Regions from separate parts of the Homo sapiens genome. Here region 2 is linked to region 1. Evidence: promoter capture Hi-C in human tissues and cell types (Jung and others, 2019). All regions are on one chromosome and are shown on one strand. The core of a region is centred on a gene start or on the middle of the fragment in contact, and the rest is flanking DNA. Distances in the headings are between cores, read along the strand shown. Region 1 holds the start of COX4I2 (cytochrome c oxidase subunit 4I2). Region 2 has its middle 4.4 kb from the start of MYLK2.

Region 1 (4,005 bases), core at 905-3,404:
CAGCTTCCCTTCTCCTTCTCCTTCAGGGCCTGCTCCTCAGCGTTGAGTTCTGTGCAGAAGGGCTCTTCTGGCATGGGGTAGTAGCGCTGGGCATAGCAGTTGGTGTAGGGGGACATCTTCCCCCCACCACGGGCTGCAGACACAATGGAGGGAGCTGAGTCCAGGCTGCCCTTGGGACACCCTATCTCTAACTATATTAATAAAGAAGGTGGCCGGGCTTGGTGGCTCATGCCTGTAATCCTAGCATTTTGGGAGGCTGAGGCGGGTGGATCACGAGGTCAGGAGTTCGAGACCAGCCTGGCCAAGACAGTAAAACCTCTCCTCTACTAAAAATACAAAAATTAGCCGGGCGCAGTGGTGGGCACCTATAATCCCAGCTACTCGGGAGGCTGAGTCAGGAGAATTGTTTGAACCCAGGAGGCGGAGGTTGCAGTGAGCCGACATTGCGCCACTGAACACTCTAGCCTGAGCGACAGAGCAAGACTCTATCTCAAAAAAAAAAAAAAAGGAGGTTTATAATAGCTTGGGGTACTAGTAAGGGCTCAATAAATGTTATCTTTGTTATTCTCCATGGGTCAGCAAGGCCCTTCTGCTATCTGGCTGAAGTCTCTCCTACTTTAGGTCTCTTTCTTCTTACTAGCATTGAAACTAGGGTCTGGAAAGGAGGAATCAGGGTCCAAGGTTCTGTCAGCATCCTCCACCTCAGAACAAAAGGTCTAGGGGCCTGAGGCTTGGGGGCTGGCTCCTAAGGAAGCTTGGAATGGAGATGACCACTGTCTGCTCACCCCGCGCACTCCATTTCCTGGAGAAACTTGACCTTGGACCAAGGAGTGGGATCATGGGAACATGGGAAGTGTGGTAGGAACAGGCCCAGGGTGGCATGGAAGGGCAAAGGGGGCAGCCTGCAGAGGGGACCCCTGCCCCTATCTCTGGAGTTAGGCAGGGAGGAAGGAGTCCAGGTCTCACTGGTGCCTTCTGAGCTGTGCATCCCTCGTCTTCCACCTCCACCTTTCCTCAGCACCAAGCTCCAGGCAGCTCTGGGGAGCATCTGGGGGCGTGAAGGTATAGATGAGTTCTGCCCCCACATCACCCTCTGCCCCCAAACCGCAGGGCCAGATGGAAAAATCCTTTTCCACTGGTATGGTAGTGGTAGGGGTGTCCCAGTGTTTCAAGGTCACCCTCATGCCCTTGACCCTTCTAATTTTGTCTGATATCCCCAGCGGGGGGCCAATGGGGGTCCTAGACCTTTGAAGCCCCTTTTTGGGACCTCAATTCACCATCTGAGAAGTGGGAGGAGGCCTAAGTCTTGGGCCAGGGTCTGAAGAGTTTGAGGCTGAGGGCTTGGGTTCTGGTGCCAGCCCCAGCTCAGTCTGGCCAGATTGGAGAACCCCGCTCACTTGTTTGCTCCCCAGAGGAAGCTGGGTGGGGTCCAGGTGGAGAGGGAGCAGTTCTTGAGTCTCTCTTCCCTGCAGGGGCCAGAGGCCCCTGCACCGGCAGAACAGACAGACGGTCTGGCCCCCACCCCTTCCCCCCTAATTGGCTGCCTACGTGCACACAGGCCTGCTCTGCTGGATCTGGTTGGGGTGGGGACTGGGCTTAGCCAGTCTGGCTGAGCCCAGTCTCCCACCCCCAGGGAAGACTCAGGGTTTGGCATCCATGGTGGTGGGGAGGGGCTTTAGAGGATGGGGACTTAACTGGGTCAGAGGGAGGGAGACACACATCTGGGGAAAAGAAGGGGAGTCCCACATCTAGGGAGAGAGAGGGGCACCCAACAAATAGAGTGAGGGAGGGGGCACACTACAGGTGATAAGTGGGAGGGGGCGGCCCACACTTCTGGAAAAGAGGGGCTCCGGCCAGTGATTATGATTAGTGGGTGGGAGAGCTCCACATATCAAGAGAGGGAGGATGTAATCTATATTTGGGGAAAGAGATGGCACACATATGCAGACTCCCCAGGAGTCTTCAACTCTAACCTACAAGAAGCCCCCCAACCCTCTAAGACAGGGACCACTGGGGCGTGACCCAGCGGCGAAGGCAGGAGACCGAGCCGCGCCCCTGACCCGCGCGGGCTTGGGTGGCGGGGTCCTCCCCCAACTCACTCACCTCGCGGGCTCGGCAGTGGGAGCGCGACCTGGGTCTGCCCAGCGAGCAACTGAGAACCCGCTGCGGAGGGACCTGAGTGCGGGCGCCCGCCCCCGGCCCGCCCCACAGCCTTTCTCGGGGCCGCCCCAGCGTGGGAACGTCCTGCTTCGGCAGGGCGTGGGAGCGCACAGCCTGCGTCCCTGGGGGCACCCCGGCCCACAGATTGGGGGGAGGCACTGCAGAGCGCCTCCTGCATCAGTGTCCCTACCGGGGTCCTGCCTCTGGAGACCCTCTGCAGACAGTAGTCCCAAGAACAGGGTCTCCCTGCCTCCTCCACACCTCCCCTCCTTGCTGTTTCTCCCACCTGGGATGTTCTCTTCAGGCCTTTGCAGACGCAAACCTTCCAGCCAGGCCCAATGCCTCCTACTCCAGAAGCATCTTTTAGGCCAGCAGTGGCTCACGCCTGTAATCCTAGCACTTTGGGAGGCCGAGGCGGGAGGATCACCTGAGGTCAGGAGTTTGAGACCAGCCTGCCCAGCATGGCGAAACACCTTCTCTATTAAAAATAGAAAAATTGGGCGGGCGCGGTGGCTCATGCCTGTAATCTCAGCGCTTTGGGAGGCCAAGGCAGGCAAATCACGAGGTCAGGAGTTTGAGACAGCTTAGCCAACATGGTGAAACCCCATCTTTACTAAGAATACAAAAATTAGCTGGGCGTGGTGGCACGCACCTGTAATCCCAGCTACTCAGGAGGCTGAGGCAGGAGAATCGCTTGAACCCGGGAGGCGGAGGTTGCGGTGAGTCGAGATCCGGCTACTGCACTCTAGCCTGGGCAGCAGAGCTAGACTCCATCTCAAAAAAAAAAAAAAAAAAAAAAAAAGTTAGCAGGGCGTGGTGGCGCGCACCTATAGTCCCAGCTTCACAGAGGGCTGAGGCAGGAGAATCACTTGAACCTGGGAAGCGGCTGTTGCAGTGAGCCGAGATCGGGCCACTGCACTCCAGCCTGGGCAACAGAACAAGACTCTGTCTCAGAAAAAAAGAAAAAGAAAAAGAAAAAAAAAATTCCCAGCACTTTGGGAGGCCAAGGGGGGCAGATCATGAGGTCAGGAGATGGAGACCATCCTGGCTAACACAGCGAAACCCCGTCTCTACTAAAAATGCAAACAAAATTAGCCAGGCATGGTGGCAGGCGCCTGTGGTCCCAGCTACTCAGGAGGCTGAGGCAGGAGAATGGCTTGAACCCGCAAGGCAGAGGTTGCGGTGAGCCAAGATCATGCCACTGCACTCGAGCCTAGTGACAGAGCGAGACTCCATCTCAAAAAAAAAAAAAAAAAAAATAGACAAGGCTCAGGCACATTTATTCAAGAATTACTTATAAAACTGGGCGTGGTGGCTCATGCCTGCAATCCCAGCACTCTGGGAGGCGGAGGCGAGCAGATCACCTAACGTCAAGAGTTTGAGACCACCCTGGCCAACGTGGTGAAATCCCGTCTCTACTAAAAATACAAAAATTAGCCGAGTGTGGCAGGGGACACCTATAATTCCAGCTACTCGGGAGGCTGAGGCTAGATAATCGCTTGAACCTGGGAGGCAGACGTTGCAGTGAGCCAAGATCGCACCACTGCACTCCAGCCTGGGTGGTAGAGTGAGACTCCTCAAAAAAAAAAAAAAAAAAAAAAAAACTTAAAAAAAACTTATAAAGACCTGTTTCAGCTGGCATTTATTGCATACTTGTTTACCAGGATAAATGTTGGGGGCTATAGAGCCAAAAAAAACCAGACATAGTTCCTGCCCCCACAGGGCTTACAATTCTGTTCTAGGCAGAGGAAAAGGCCTGTGCAAAGACCCAGAGGCAGGAAAACACAGCATGTTCAAAAAACAGAAGAGACAGGCCAGGTGCAGTGGCTCACGCTGTAATCCCAG
Region 2 (4,005 bases), core at 462-2,961, 180 kb before region 1:
TATGCTGGACCTTGCTGGCATCTCCTTGTTATTATTGTGGTTATCAATACCAGTCATTTATTGAGTGCCCACCAACGGCCAGGCCAGACTATGCCAAAGATCCAGCTCCCTGGATCCTCAGAAGGGACTGTAGGGGCCAATGTTACACCATTTTAAAGGTGTGGAAACTGATGCTCACAGAGGGAAGTGGCTTGTCCCCACAGTCACTCAGCTAGTGAATGGCTTCAAACTACCCACATTCAAATCCAGAGCCACCTCCCAATGAGACCAAAATCCAGCCTGGGACAACTTCAGGGGCATTAGTGCTACTTTTGTTATAATTATTATTCCCAAATAATTACTCTTATTGAACTCTTTCTAAAATGGACCAGGCCCTGGGGTAAGCAGCTTCATGAGTATCCTTCCTTCGAGTCTTACAACTCCCTACCATGCAGTGATTAGGAGATCTGTCAATGAAGCGCTGCGACCAGTAACTGTGAGCTTGGAACAATGTCTTCACCTGTTTCCTCATCCGTAAGGAGAGCATCTGCCTCCCAGGAGGTAGATAAAGCATTACAACAGTGAGTGTGAGCATAGCGAGTGCTGTATAAATGTCAGCTCTTTAATCCCCATTTCACAGATGTGACAGGAAAACTGAGTCACAGGGCAAAGTCATAGAGTTGGGATTGGACCCATCTAACCCAAGGCTCTGCTCATAACTGCTCTGCCCCATTGCCTCCCTCTCACAGCATGGCTGCGAGCATTTAGCCAGCACACATGTAAAGAGTGCCCAATGGCACAGTACCTACAGCACTGTGGGGGCCTGATAATGTCGTGGACACCCCAGGTAGAGGGTTCATCTGTTCCCGCCAGCTCCCCTGCAGTGCCTCCCACTGGGATGAGAGTCTGGCCTGGTTCCGAATCTACGGGACTGCCTGCTCCAGCCAGCTGCTCCCTGGGAGTCCCCAAGCTTCTCAGCACTCCCTTGGAGGCACAGGGGTGGGGCACGGGGAAACTTCCTCCACCCACCTAGGGGCTGCCAGAGCCCCTGCCCACCCTCAAGAAGGGGCTTCCCCGCCCTGCACCAGCTGTGCAGACACCCTCTTTGCCTCTACAGGGGCAGGACAGGAAGTGGGGCAATGCCAAGACCAATTAAACCCGCCAGGGGAATTAAGGTCAGCAGGATGCAATTATGCCTGTTGGATTTAACAAGGCCAGAGGGAAGGTTTCTCCAGCCAGAGTTCACGGCTCCTTAGGCCTCTTGCCCTGTGTAGCTCTGCCTTCCAGGAGCCTAGGCTTCCAGGCTCACCTAGCTCTGGAAGAATGTGTTGGGGGTGAAGGGGTTAACTTCACCCAGGCACTGCTTCCTTGGCTCTGGAGAGGAAATCAGTTCAGCCAAGAGGCTTTAAAAGGACCTGTTCGGAGAAGTCATGCCCAGTCTGACCCTCTCCCTGCCCAGCTGTGATGGAAAATCCAAAGAGTTGAGCAACAACCTTTCTGACTCCAAAGAGAGCAGCCAACTCCCCTCACAGCCTTCCCTCTGCTCCTGTTTGAGAGCCACTCAAGGCTGCATTAGCACGTTGTTTTCTCTCGCCCTCTCCCACCTTGGACCCCTGAGCCCAGGGCCTTGGCAGGACCTCTCAGGCCTCTGGAAAAGCCCTAGGTAAGGTTGCTGTCCTTACAGCAGACCCTGTCCTTCCAGCCAAGCTAGTAAGCAGAGGTCTGTGGGCGTTCTGTGTGCAAATTGGACATAGGTTTCTCCGAAAACGCAATTGACACACTGTTCCATCCCACAGTTATAGAATTTTATTGCTAAGATTAATTACTGGGGGCTCTACTGTGACAAGGACTAAACTGGTCACTTTCAGGACACAGAGATGAAATTGGGGGAGAGCTATAGAATCACTGCATATTACATTTTAGGTGAAAAAAGACTATAAAAATCAACCATGCCTGTAATCCTAGCATGTTAAGAGGCCGAGGCTGGAGGATCACTTGAGCCCAGGAGTTCACGACCAGCCTGCGCAACATGGTGAGACCCCATCTCTGCAAAAAAATTTAAAAATTCGCCAGGCGTGGCAGTGCACACCTGTGGTCCCAAGCTACTCAGGAGGCTGAGGTAGAAGGATTGCTTGACACCAGGAGGTTGAGGCTGCAGTGAGCCATGATTGTGTCACTGCACTATGGCCTGGGTGACAGGGTGGGCCCCTGTCTCAATAAATAAATTAAATAAAAATCAGCCATAGAGCGGGATCCTTTTTGTTCAAAATATTTACAAAGAAGATGGCTGGAGGGATATAAATGGACATATTTACAGGCGTAGAAATAGAGATTATTTTTATTCTTTATTCATCTAGATTTTCCAACTTTTTTGGAAATGACTTGTAACTCTTAATCAGATCAATAAGTAATTCCAAATATATCAACGTGGACACAGATTTCTTCAGAGAGAAAATGGTAAGAGCTATAAAACACCATGAAAGGACTTCTTGGCTCAGGGCCTCAGAGAACTCGCAATTCAGCTACTGCAAGGCTTTCTCAGTAACTAAGCCCCAGAGTTGGTTTAAAATGAAGCCTCCTGGCTGGGCGAAGTGGCTCATGCCTGTAATCTCAGCACTTTCGGAGGACAAGGCAGGCGGATCACTTGAGATCAGGAGTTCAAGCCCAGCCTGGCCAACATGATGAAACACCATCTCTACTAAAAATATAAAAATTAGCCGGGCATGGTGGTGAGCACCTGTAATCCCAGCTACTCGGGAGGCTGAGGCATGAAAATCACTTGAACCCAGGAAGCAGAGGTTGCAGTGAGCCAAGCTTATGCCACTGCACTCCAGCCTGGGCAATAGAGCAAGACTAAGTCTCAAAAATAAAAATAAAATAAAAAATAAAATGGAGCTTCCTTGGAATGAGGCCCCAGAAATGTCTATAAACCAGCATTTCAGGTGATTTTTCATGCACATCCAAGTTCAAGAACCACCAAGTCAGAGAGCCAGCTCTCTAGAAAGCATCCTGAGAGCCTTGGAAGAGGGAACAGATTTGAGGCACTGTCCTGACAGTCACCCTGGTGCAGTCAGTGGAGAGCTTCCAGGATTCATATCCCTATAACCCAGGGCCACACTTCTCAACCCTGATGCACACTGAAAACACCTGGAGAGTTTCTACAACTCTTGAAGTCTGAGCCCCTCCTCAGCTCAGACCAATTAAGAACATTTGGAGTGGGGCCCAGAATGTTGGTATTTTTAAAAATCTCTCCAAAAGATTCTGATGTGTGGCAGGGTGAAGAGCCACTGATCTAAGGCTTTCCTAGGACAGGAACTTCATTTTCTTTTTTGTATGTTTCTTTTTTTTTTTTTTTTTTTGAGCCGGAGTCTTGCTCTTTTACCCAGGCTGGAGTACAGTCGTGCAATCTCTGCTCACTGCAACCTCCACCTCCTGGGTTCAAGTGATTCTTCTGCCTCAGCCTCCTGAGTAGCTGGGATTACAGTTGTACACTACCATGCTCAGCTAATTTTTTGCATTTTTAGTAGAAACAGGGTTTCACCATTTTGGCCAGGCTGCTCTCAAACTCCTGACCTCAAGCAATCCACCCACCTTGGCCTCCCTATAATCCCAAAGTGCTAGGATTATAGGCGTGAGCCACTGCGCCCAGCCAGAAACTTCAATTTCTGTTTCCCTTGAATGCCCTCCAACATAAGGTAGGAAAAATAGTACACACAGCAGGTATTCTTTCTGACGGTGTTGACTGGGTACCCCATCCCAATATCTGAGACCCTTGGAGTCCAGATGCCAGTGCAAAACAGATGCAGACTACATCACATTCAATTTCATATCCCAAGTACCTAGTACAATACGTGGTGCTGTTGTGGTTAGTAGTAATAGCCACTAACGTTCATTGTGTATTTACAATGTGTCAGACAGAGATATTAACTCTTTTAATCTTCAGAGCAACCTTATGAGGTAGATACTATAATCACTCCCATTTCCAAAAGGAAACTGAGGCACAGAGGAGTTTCAGAGGTAGTAAAT

What was found. Contacts are between HindIII fragments. The study calls those that stand out against the background at their distance.
Region 2: a contact is called between a fragment that was not itself captured here and the fragment with the promoter of COX4I2 in region 1, in 2 of the 25 tissues and cell types used here (adrenal gland and spleen).

Annotation. Positions count from the first base shown.
Region 1 is chr20:31,636,061-31,640,065 of GRCh38, reverse strand. It overlaps COX4I2 (cytochrome c oxidase subunit 4I2), which reads right to left and starts at 2,154. Exons shown (of 5, transcript NM_032609.3): 1 at 2,104-2,154; 2 at 967-1,048; 3 at 1-133. The coding sequence starts at 1,048. RefSeq lists a silencer at 2,094-2,233. The HindIII fragment of the contact is 12,374 bases long and covers 1-4,005 here.
Region 2 is chr20:31,812,922-31,816,926 of GRCh38, reverse strand. No RefSeq gene overlaps it. Among named protein-coding and RNA genes, the nearest start is that of MYLK2, 4.4 kb to the left of the region's middle. RefSeq lists an enhancer at 441-1,243. The HindIII fragment of the contact is 4,370 bases long and covers 1-3,896 here.